Linked DNA regions of Homo sapiens: region 1 is linked to region 2. The links are contacts of gene promoters, found by promoter capture Hi-C in human tissues and cell types (Jung and others, 2019). All regions are on one chromosome and are shown on one strand. The core of a region is centred on a gene start or on the middle of the fragment in contact, and the rest is flanking DNA. Distances in the headings are between cores, read along the strand shown.

Region 1 (5,662 bases), core at 1,537-4,036, 370 kb after region 2:
AGAAAAAATAGATTTTACTACATTAAAATTTAAAATGTCTATTCAAAACATCACAAACTACAAAAATTAGAGATGCAAATCACACACACATGCAAAAAATGTTCTATCTCACTAGCATTCAAAAACATTGATTAAAATAACATAAAATTTTTATCTACTGAATTAACAAGATTGTTTTAGATAATAATAATCAAGACTCTAGTGAGACAGATGCTATCATACTTTTGATGGGAGAATAAGTATTTCATTATTTTAAAAAATATGATCTTATGCCCCTGAATTTGTATTTCTAGAAATTTAGCCTAAGGAAATGACCAGAGATGTTTTTAAATATAAATGTGTACAGAAATATTATTTATAAGAGCCCAAGAGGGGAAATAATCTAAGTAAAAATAGAGGTACTCTTTTTTTTTTTTTTTGAGACAGAGTCTCACTCTGTTGCCCAGGCTGGAGTGCAGTGGTGAGATCTCAGCTCACTGCAACCTCTGCCTCCCGGGTTCAAGCGATTCTCCTACCTCAGCCTCGTGAGTAGCTGGGATTACAGGCGCCCCCTACCACACCCAGCTAATTTTTGTATTTTTAGTAGAGACAGGGTTTTGCCATTTGGCCAAGCTGGTCTCGAACTCCTAACCTCAGGTGATCCACCCACCTCGGCCTCCCAAAATGCTGGGATTACAGGCGTGAGCCACTGCGCCTGGCCAAAATAGAGGGATTTTTAAATCGGACACAACCATATGATAAAGTAACACAAAAACATAAAAATCATGTTTGTCTGAACTTTTATTTAGGTTTGGGGATGCACATGCAGGTATATTATATAGGTAAATTGTGTGTCATGGGAGCTGGGTGTACAGATTATTTTGGCACCCAGGTAATAAGCATAGTACCAAATAGGTAGTTTTTCAATCCTCACACTCCTCACTCTCTCCAACCTTAAGCAGGCCCCGGTGTCTGTTCTTTGTGTCCATATGTACTCAATGTTTAGCTCCCACTTATAAGTGGGAACATGCAGTATTTTGTTTTCTGTTCTTGTGTTAGTTTGCTTAGGATAATGGCCCCCAGCTCCATCCATGTTGCTGCAAAAGACATGTTCTCATTCTTTTTTATGGCTGCACAGTATTCCATGGTGTGTATATAACACATTTTCTTTATCCAGTCTACCATTGATGGGCATTTAGGTTAATTCTATGTTTTTACTATTGTGAATAATGCTGTAATGAACATATGCATGCATGTGTTTCCATGGCAGAACAATTTATATTCCTTTGGGTATATATTCAGCAATGGGATTACTGTGTCAAATGGTAATTCTGTTTTGAGTTCTTTGAGAAATCACTAAACTGCTTTCCACAATGGCTGAGCTAATTTACATTCCTACCAACAGTATATAAGCATACATTGTTCTCAGCAACCTTGCCAGAATCTGTTGTTTTTTGACTTTTAATAATAGCCACTCTGACTGGTGTGAGATGGCATCTCATTGTGGTTTTGATTTGCATTTCTCTAATGATTAGTGATGTTGAGCATAAAAATCATATTTTGAAGGAAATTTAATAATGTGGGGAAATGCTCATTCATAAAAAGAGAGAGAGAGAGAGAGAAACATTGTGGGACCAAAGTTATAAAGACTGAAATAGCAATGGGAATGACGAGACAGGGATGAATGGGAGAACAATTTAAGATTTAGAGGAATGGGATAGGATCCTGTTACTAAAAGCATGTGTGGAAATAGGGGTGAGCACTGGATTATGCCCAGGATATCTGCTCAGGTTTTGGGTGAGTAGGGGAGGCCATTGCCAAACTAGGTAATACACATGAAAAGGTCGAAACTTGACCTGACTCTCTCCAATATCAATATAAGCAGTCTGCTTAATACCCATCTTTCTTAATCCCATTGGATTTTGGTCCCCACTACCACCACAGGAGCATTTTAGGTATTAGGAAAGCTCACTATGTCTTGCCTCTTTCTGACATAGCAGACCATGCAGTCTACTGACATTGAAATTATGTTCAATGTAAAACTGCAGCTACATGGAGATGCAGAGAGATATCCACGTTATTGCTGCACTGAAAGCTCAAGTTGGGGGTGTTCTAAAAGGTTTAGGAATCAAGAAGAATGTACAAAAGATAAGCTTGCCAAAAACACCAAATAATTACTAAACCTCTACAGCGCACATAGCACTCAACTGGATAGCGAGAGGAGTATAACTATGTGAGAAACTGTGTTTATGCTTCAATAGATTTTGCCAATAAAAGTCTTGAGAATATGAGGAATAGCTTGAAAGAGAGATATATTTTTATAATCTACATAACTTCTTTAATTAAGCAAAATAAGTATATTAATAAGAACTTAGTGTAGTATTTACCAGGTTTAATAGTCAGATTGGATAATCCATGTGCATGTAATTAAAACTAGATCTAGAAAGTGTGTGACAGCTTGTGTGCAGTATCCATGATCATAACCTCCTCCAAATTTCTCCAAATTATAACTAATTTCAATTTAACCATATTGCATAAATTTTACACTTATGACTCAGTGATAATATTAATCCTTCTTCCCCCAAAGAACATATTTGTAGGCTAGAGAATGGTTCCTTTCTGCATACTATTAAGATATTTGGTTCCACTAAGGTTAAAAATTTTTCCATGAAAATTTTGGACTCAAGTATTCCTATAACTGTTCCCTTTTTAAAGTTTCCCTTTCACAGGAATAATAATAGTTCTAATATTGAGGCAGCAAAACTTAGTGAAATGAATTACAGCATGAAAGCTAACCATACCTACATTTCAATCTCAAATCTGCGTTCATGGGCAAGACTTTAACTTCTCTGATGCTCAGTCTCATATCTATTAATAGTGCAAAATTGTACCTTTCCCTAATTTGAGGGAAAAAAATAACTTGCCAGAGTTGCTGTAAGGACTAAAGATATTGTAAATCATCACCATTAAAATAATTTACTATTCTATGTATTTTCTCTCTATCATGTCATTTAATTCCCAGAACAATCCTATTCTTTTCCCCATTTTAAAAATTAGGAAATCAAGGCACAGAAAGGTCAAACAAGTTGGCCAAGGTCATACACCTAGCAGCAGAGCTGAGATTCAAACCTGCATAGTCTGACTCCAGAGACTTGGTGCTCCATCACTACACCAGCCTACTTCATAAGAGCATCCTTCAAATGGAAGTTGTTAGAAATAATAACTATTGTTGCTGTTATTGTAGTTGTTATGACTTGCATCGACAGTGCTGCTTGTCAAAGAGCTCCTTACCAGTTCCTGTTCTCACAAGCAACATTGTTTTATATTTGTTTTCATCTCAGAACCAGAATATCATAAATATGTGTGCATTTGTTAACAGTAACTCCTTAAATGGTTAAAAGTCTTACAAATATAAATCCGGAAGCTATCACACCTTATAGTTCAAGGTAAAAAGGAATGGCTGATGTAAATTATGTCAGTGCACCGTCAACATAAACCATCAGGACACTATATATTACTGAGCAACCTCCACTCTGTACATATATCTTGATACAAGCAATACTTTTGACACCAATCACTTCTCCAGATAAAATACAGTTTGTAGGGGAATAATTTCAGCAGTACATAAAATGGCACTGTCCCACAAAAGAAACATTTATTTTCATACAAAAAATATATGTTTACAGTGTTGAGTAATACAGTCACCAAACACAAAATAAATGCAGTTCTTTACTTCTCCCCAAATTGCTATATTTTGTCTCATTTTTCCAACCTAAATAATAATTTCTTACCCACAACAGAAAGTGATTGTTGAGATTCAGTCCTTATCAAATATTTAGATAACTAAATATTTCCTCTATGCTCTTTTTTATTTTGGGATTCAGGAGAATTTCTTCAGCAAAGTAAAACATCATTCTAAACAATACATGTGATGCTACTTGTTAACAACAGAAAAACTATTTCAGTATATAGCACATACCTCTCCCCCACTCACCTTATCTCACAAGTCTTGCATTGATAACGGGTATCTACTATCTGTTGTCTTATCTAAAAAGGCGTTTTCATGATCACTGCATTTAACATATTCTGTGGCCAACATTAAGGTTGTTGTGTTTTTATCTAGTATAACACTCAGCACGTGGCATATTTCAGACTTCTAAGAATGCCACACACCATAAAGGCATAGATTATTACCATCCAACTACAACCAAGAGAAAACACCTGGTGGTACGAATCAGAAAATGGCTTTCAAAAATAGAAAATGAAATTTGCATATTTTAAAATCTTAATTTGGTTCCTTTAAAGTTAAAAAAAAACTCCATGAGAAATTCAGACTTTTAGGTATTCTTATAGTGTACCCTGCTTTTATGTTTCCCTTAAAAAGGAAAAGCAACTCTCATCCGGAAGCAGCACAAGTTACTGAAATACATCAGGTCTGGGAGCCAATCAGACCTAGTTCAACAATCAAATCTGTCAGTAATTTTCTTAACTTTATACCATACGCTATATTGATGGAGCTGGAAGCAAACCACAAGTAACCCTTTGATTTTATCAGTCCGTTTCTCTGAAAAAGTTTTAAATCAAAGTGTTAGGCCTACTCCAGTATTTCCATACCTCTCCTATTCTAAGAGCACATGGATAGGTAAAGCCAAATCAAATAAACTCTGACCATAAACCATTTTGCTATGATTTACAGTAACAATCACAATTATGTATTTGAAGTCATTGAATATTAAGAGAAGCATAGGCCAGCAAAAGGAAATGTATTTTTAATCTTTATCAAAAACAGAAGATGTTCTCAGCCTTAATCCTTTAGGTTTGGCCTAGAAATAAGAATTCATATTGACTCCACAGTTTTCTCAGAAAAAGAAAATTATCAGCATTGGAACATAAAATTATTATATAATCCAACCACTATGAGAGGCAAAGAGTGGATTGGAAAAGAGGGGAATTACATACTTCCAGATATCCTATAAGAAAACAGTTACAATGTCAGACTTTATGACTAATTTATGGTGCATACATATTTGAAATAACTACTAACTTTTTTAAGAAAGAGCTTTGGACCACACCACTTGTTGTATAATAAGGAATTTGACTGGTCTTTGTTCCTTGTTCCTGGGATTAAGACTCTAAATCCTTGGAACTTCCCCAGTAAAAGAAGTGTCTTTGTTATTCCTAAGTTCCTTGGATCACACCTGAATTTGTGTTGAGGTAACTCATGGTGGGACCCCAGATAGCTTCAGAATGGGGGCTGATCATGTTATTAGAAGATTGGGGCTTTAAACCATGTGATATCAGCCCAACTTCTGGACATTCAGCGAGGGTAGGAAGACTGAATGAAGATTGAGCTCAATTACATGGACAATGATTTTATCAATTATGCCTACATTATGAAACCCCAGTAAAAATTCCCAACACTGAAGCTTGAGGGAGCTTTTTGGTTGATGAACACATTGATGGGCCAAGAGTTTGATACACTCTGAACCCACTGAGAGGCAGCATGGAAGCTTTGCAATCAGGATCCTCCCAGCCCTTGCCCTCTGTGTCTCCTCATTTGTCTGGTCCTGACTTGCATCCTTGACAATAAAACTGTAAGTATAGCACTTTCCTGAGTTCTATGATTTATTCTAGGGAATTGTCAAACCTGAGTTGTAGTCATGGGAATCCTCTGGATTTGTAG
Region 2 (6,049 bases), core at 380-2,879:
GATTTCCCCAGCTTAGTTTCTTGAGAGAGTTTTGAAGCAACAGCACAGACAGGGAACCCAATTGAAACTCAGTGGAAACCTATGGCAAGGAGATTAGGCTGAGAGCCTAGAGAAACCAAAGAAGCTAGACTCTGCCAGGCATAGCACTGGAGAAAAAAGAGTTGCATAGAGAGAGAACTCCAGAGAGCTTTAGAGGGTCCCCCAGTGAGTATTCAGTTGGGTATTGATCAGTGCATGTATAGGAGAAAACTACTGAGGCTAACGAAAGATGCACCTGGAAAGACTAGAGATAACAGTATCCAGTGGTCACTCAGGGCTGGGAGGAATTACTGTTCCAAACAGCCTCATTTGTCAGGGGTGTTGGGTAGAGTACATAGAAAGATCTCTTCACAGTAAAGAGGAAGAATTAGCCCCAGACTGAGTACTATCCTTGTGCCATCTAAGAAATCTTAAAAGCAGACGCAAAAGAATTGAACTGTTTCCAAGTAATTTATCTGCATCCCAAAACAAAACTCAAGACCATTTATAGGGATACAAAAATATCAAGCACCCAGTCAGGTAAAAGTCACAATGTTTGGCATCTAATTAAAACTTATCAGGCATGCAAAGAAACAGGAAATACAAGCCATAATGAGGAGATAAGCAATCAATCAAAACCGAACCAGAACTGACACAGAGGTTAGAATTGCAGAAAATGAAATTAAAAGTTATTCTAACTGTATTCCATGTGTTCAGAAAGTTAAGTAGATATTAAAAAACCCAAATTGAGCTTCTAGGGATGAACACTACAATATGTGAGGTGAAAAATGTACTGGATGAATTAATAGCAGAGCAGACATTGGAGAAGAAAAGATTAGTGAACTTGAAGAGAGAGCAACAGAAACTATCTGAAATCAAGGACAAGGAGAAAAGGTAATTATAATGAGTAGGGCATCAATGGAGTCCCTAAGGGATAGAAGAGACAGAATAAAACACATTTGAAGAAATAATGGGCCCAAAGCTTTTCAAAGTCGATGAAACCTGTAAACCTACAGATTCAAGTAGCTCAGTAAACCCCAAGCAAAGAAAATAAGAAAACTATTCCAAGACACTTCATGATAAAACTGGGCAAAACCACTGATAAAGAGCAAAACCCTAAAGATAGAGAAAAATAGACATGTTAAAAATAATAGCAAAGTTCCACCTGAAACAGCAAGAGAGACGATGGTAGAGCAACAGCTCCAAGGTCCTGAAACTTAAAAAGAAAAAATATGTCAAATAGAATTCTATACCCCGAGAAAATACCTTTGAATATTACTATGAAATATATTTCAGATGTTCAAATTTGGAAGAATTCATCTCCAGCAGACCTGCACTATTAAGAAGGAAAATGATAACGTAGAGATATAGATCCACACAAAAGAGTGAACGCCGGTAACTGTAATTACATGGATAAATATATGATTTAAAAAAAAAAATTAAATCTTAGAAGACAACTGAGTGGCTGGAGGTGAAGCCTGGGCTGGAGGGGTGGGGTGAGAAGGCGCCGCGCCAGTTAAAGGGCAAAGGTTGCCTTGCGCCTGCGCCTTGTGCTCCTGACTGGCTGCGCTCCCTGCCCCCAACACCGCCGTGGCCTGGGAAACGGTCCCAGAGCTGCTGAGCCGACCTACTGGTGTCATGGCAGCCCCAAAGACAGCAGCTGTGGGGCCGTTGGTGGGAGCGGTGGTCCAGGGCACCAACTCCACTCGCTTTCTGGTTTTCAATTCAAAAACAGCGGAACTACTTAGTCATCACAAAGTGGAATTAACACAAGAGTTCCCAAAAGAAGGATGGGTGGAACAAGACCCTAAAGAAATTCTTCAGTCTGTCTACGAGTGTATAGCGAGAACGTGTGAGAAACTTGACGAACTGAATATTGATATATCCAACATAAAAGCTGTTGGTGTCAGCAATCAGAGGGAAACCACTGTAATCTGGGACAAGTTAACAGGAGAGCCTCTCTACAATGCTGTGGTGTGGCTTGATCTAAGAACCCAGACTACTGTTGAGGATCTTAGTAAAAAAATTCCAGGAAATAGTAACTTCGTCAAGTCTAAGACAGGCCTTCCACTCAGCACTTACTTCAGTGCAGTAAAACTTCGTTGGATGCTTGACAATGTGAGAAACGTCCAAAAGGCTGTTGAAGAAGGTAGAGCTCTTTTTGGTACCATTGATTCATGGCTTATCTGGAGTTTGACAGGAGGAGTTAATGGAGGCGTGCATTGTACAGATGTAACAAATGCAAGTAGGACAATGCTTTTTAATATCCATTCTTTGGAATGGGATAAAGAGCTCTGTGACTTTTTTGAAATTCCAATGGACCTTCTTCCAAATGTCTTCAGTTCTTCTGAGATCTATGGCCTAATTAAAACTGGAGCCCTGGAAGGTGTGCCAATATCTGGGTGTTTGGGGGACCAATGTGCTGCATTAGTAGGACAAATGTGCTTCCAGGAGGGACAAGCCAAAAACACCTATGGAACAGGTTGCTTCTTACTGTGTAATACGGGTCGTAAATGTGTGTTTTCTGAACATGGCCTTTTGACCACAGTAGCTTACAAACTAGGCAGAGAGAAGCCAGCATATTATGCACTGGAAGGTTCTGTTGCTATAGCAGGTGCTGTTATTCGTTGGCTAAGAGACAATCTTGGAATTATAGAGACCTCAGGAGACATTGAAAGACTTGCTAAAGAAGTAGGAACTTCTTATGGCTGTTACTTTGTCCCAGCCTTTTCAGGGTTATATGCACCTTATTGGGAGCCCAGTGCAAGAGGGATACTCTGTGGCCTCACTCAGTTTACCAATAAATGTCATATTGCTTTTGCTGCATTAGAAGCTGTTTGTTTCCAAACCCGAGAGATTTTGGAAGCCATGAACCGTGACTGTGGAATTCCACTTCGTCATTTGCAGGTAGATGGAGGAATGACCAACAACAAAGTTCTTATGCAGCTACAAGCAGATATTCTTCATATTCCAGTAATAAAACCCTTTATGCCTGAAACAACTGCACTAGGAGCTGCCATGGCAGCAGGGGCTGCAGAGGGAGTAAGCGTTTGGAGCCTTGAACCCCAGGCTTTGTCAGTTCTCAGGATGGAACGATTTGAACCACAGATCCAGGCCACAGAAAGTGAAATTCGTTATGCCACATGGAAGAAAGCCGTAATGAAGTCAATGGGTTGGGTTACCAGTCAGTCTCCTGAAGGTGGTGATCCTTCTATCTTCTCTAGTCTGCCTTTGGGATTTTTTATAGTGAGTAGCATGGTAATGCTAATTGGAGCAAGATATATCTCGGGTGTGCCATAATAATACCAGCTATGGAGTCCCAAGATGTAAACATTTTACATAATGAAAGCATATAGCAGTTCTGCCTCTTAATATAATGACACTATTATAGACTCTGATTTTGTTTATAAACCACTTGCTACATGACCCATGAAAACCCTAGACTTGTGACCTGAAATAAAGAAAATACGTTAGAAGAGCACTGTAGAAATATTGGGTGTGTTTTTTTTAACATCGACAGGGTTGGGCCAGCCATCTTGAAGGCTGGCCCCCTCCATTGCCATAACATTCTGCCCCATTCTTTCTAAAACATAGGCTATTCAGATTCTATTCATGGAATCTTTTTATCAACTATCCTCTAACACTTATGGACCCAGATTTGGTTCTTTGTGTTACACACACTTGATTAAGAGGTGTAATTAATCTGCTAAAATTAAGGGACTTTTTGTCATTGTTATTCTTGTTTTTAATAGGCTACAAGTCCTCCTTTCTACATATTAGAGAGACTACATCTTAACTGAATGTTTAATGGAAATATTTGCTAAATTCTTACAATAGAAATTTAGTATTCTCATAGCTTAGATATTTTCCTGAAAAATATTTGCCAAATTGAAATTTATTAGACAATTTACATGGTCTCATTAATTACTATTTTACTGAATTATTGTGTGAATCCTAGAGGGACAGGGACACTATTTCCCTTTTTTATATCATGTCTATATCATATAGAGTAGCTCATTTATAAGTTGAAAGTACATTGTAGTCAGTAGATTATAACATGGATGGTCCTAAATACTTTAAGGTAAACAGCTATATACATTTTGGGGAATGTGTATACATATTATTTATCAGGAGAAACCTACAAAGGCAGTATTTAAAAGTTAAATATGTTTTATGCTGCTACAAAAAGTATATTATGATTGCACCAAATTTCTTATAACTTACTCTTTTATTTAATATATTAGCTGGATATATGCTGGGAAAAAACACTGGAATATTTCAGAAAATATTGCTTTCAAGTAGGAAAAAACAAATGACTGTTCAAACAAAAATAATAATATAGTATGAAATGCAAGCATGTCTAAAAGAAAACAATAGCAAAGAAGAGGATAAATGAAGGTGTAGTAGTTTGAGACTCATATACTGTGTGGAAAATGATGTATCACTTGAAGTTATAGTGATAATGAAAGATATATACTATAAATCCTGAAATAACAAAATGTTATATTAAAAATATGCACTAGAACTACTAAAATATTCAATTCTAAAGAAGATACAAAACAGATGAGGAACAAAGAAAAGGTAGGAAAATATATTTAACCCTAACCATACCAACAAGCACATTAAATGTAAATGATTTGATTACCCCAATTAAAAAGGAAACTTGTCAGATTTAAAAAATAAAACCAAAATATACACTGCCTCCAAGAAACATACTTTACACATAAGAAAAAAAGGTCAAAAGTAAAATGATAGAAAATGGATATACCAAGTTAATAATAATAAAAAAGAAATATCAGAAAGTAAATTTCAAAACAAAGAATATTAAAAGTGATAAGATCATTTGCAATGATAATGGGGTAAATTCAAGAGGACATAACAATTCTAAATATTTATGCACCTCATGATGGAGCTTCAAAATACATAAAATCTTATAGAACTGAAAGGAAAAATAAAAAGTTGTGCAATAACAGGAAGATATTTCAATACCTCTTCCTCAATATTTGATAGAAAAAGTAGTTAAGTTTACTAAGATATGGATTTTAACAACACTATCAAACAACATGACTTAACTGACATTTATGGAAAATGCCACCCAACAATAGGAGAATACATATTCTTTTCAAGTGCACAGTGAATATTTACCAAGATTGACCATATAGAGGCCAAAAAGCAAGCCTCAAAAAATTAAAAAAGATTTCTTACAAAGTATGGTGTCTGAGCACATTAGAATTATACATCGACACTAGAAAAATCTTTAGAAAAGTCCCCAAACATTTGAAAACTAAGTAACAAACTTTAAAATAATTGATAAGTTAAAGAGATAAAGAGGGAAAATAGAAAGTATCTGGAATTGAGTGAAAATGAAAGCACAACATATTAAAATTTATGAGAGATTGTTAAAGCAGTACTTTAGAAGAATTTTATAGAACTAAATGCCTGTATTAGAAGGGAGAAAAGGTCTTAAATCACTAACCTCTGCTTCTACCTTAAGAAACGAGAAATGGAGTAATAAATTAAGCCCAAGCTAAATAGAAGAAGTAAAGAAATAGTAAAGATGAGAGCAGTAGTAATCAATTAATTCTAAAGAAGATACAAAACAGATATAGAAAATAGAAAACAATGACAAAATGGCAAAATTGATATAACCAAAAGTTTGTTCTTTCAGAGTGTGAATATGATAAACTTTTAGCCTCCGTTACTAGAAAAAAAGGAGAGAAGACAAAAATTATCCATATCAGGAATGAGATTGACATTACTACTACAGGTCCTGTAGGATATTAAGGATAGTAAAATGAGAATATAGAAATATTATGAAAACCTTATGCCAGTAAATTTGATGACTTGGATAAGATGAACAAATTCATTGGAAAACACAAACTTCTTAAACTCAGGAAAATATAGATAACCAGAATGGCTCTATATCTCTTAAAAATATTGAATTTCTAGCTTAAAACCCCCCTTACAAAGAAAACCTCAAGCTCAAGTGGCTTCTTTCACACTTATAAGGAAGAAATAATGCCTATCCTAC

Evidence for each region. Contacts are between HindIII fragments. The study calls those that stand out against the background at their distance.
Region 1: a contact is called between a fragment that was not itself captured here and the fragment with the promoter of GK2 in region 2, in 1 of the 25 tissues and cell types used here (liver).

Annotation. Positions count from the first base shown.
Region 1 is chr4:79,035,960-79,041,621 of GRCh38, reverse strand. All of the region lies in intron 2 of LINC01088 (long intergenic non-protein coding RNA 1088), which reads right to left. Among named protein-coding and RNA genes, the nearest start is that of LINC01088, 67 kb to the right of the region's middle. The HindIII fragment of the contact is 7,883 bases long and covers 1-5,662 here.
Region 2 is chr4:79,403,808-79,409,856 of GRCh38, reverse strand. GK2 (glycerol kinase 2) reads left to right here and starts at 1,629. Exons shown (of 1, transcript NM_033214.3): 1 at 1,629-3,496. The coding sequence starts at 1,657. The coding sequence ends at 3,318. The HindIII fragment of the contact is 12,605 bases long and covers 202-6,049 here.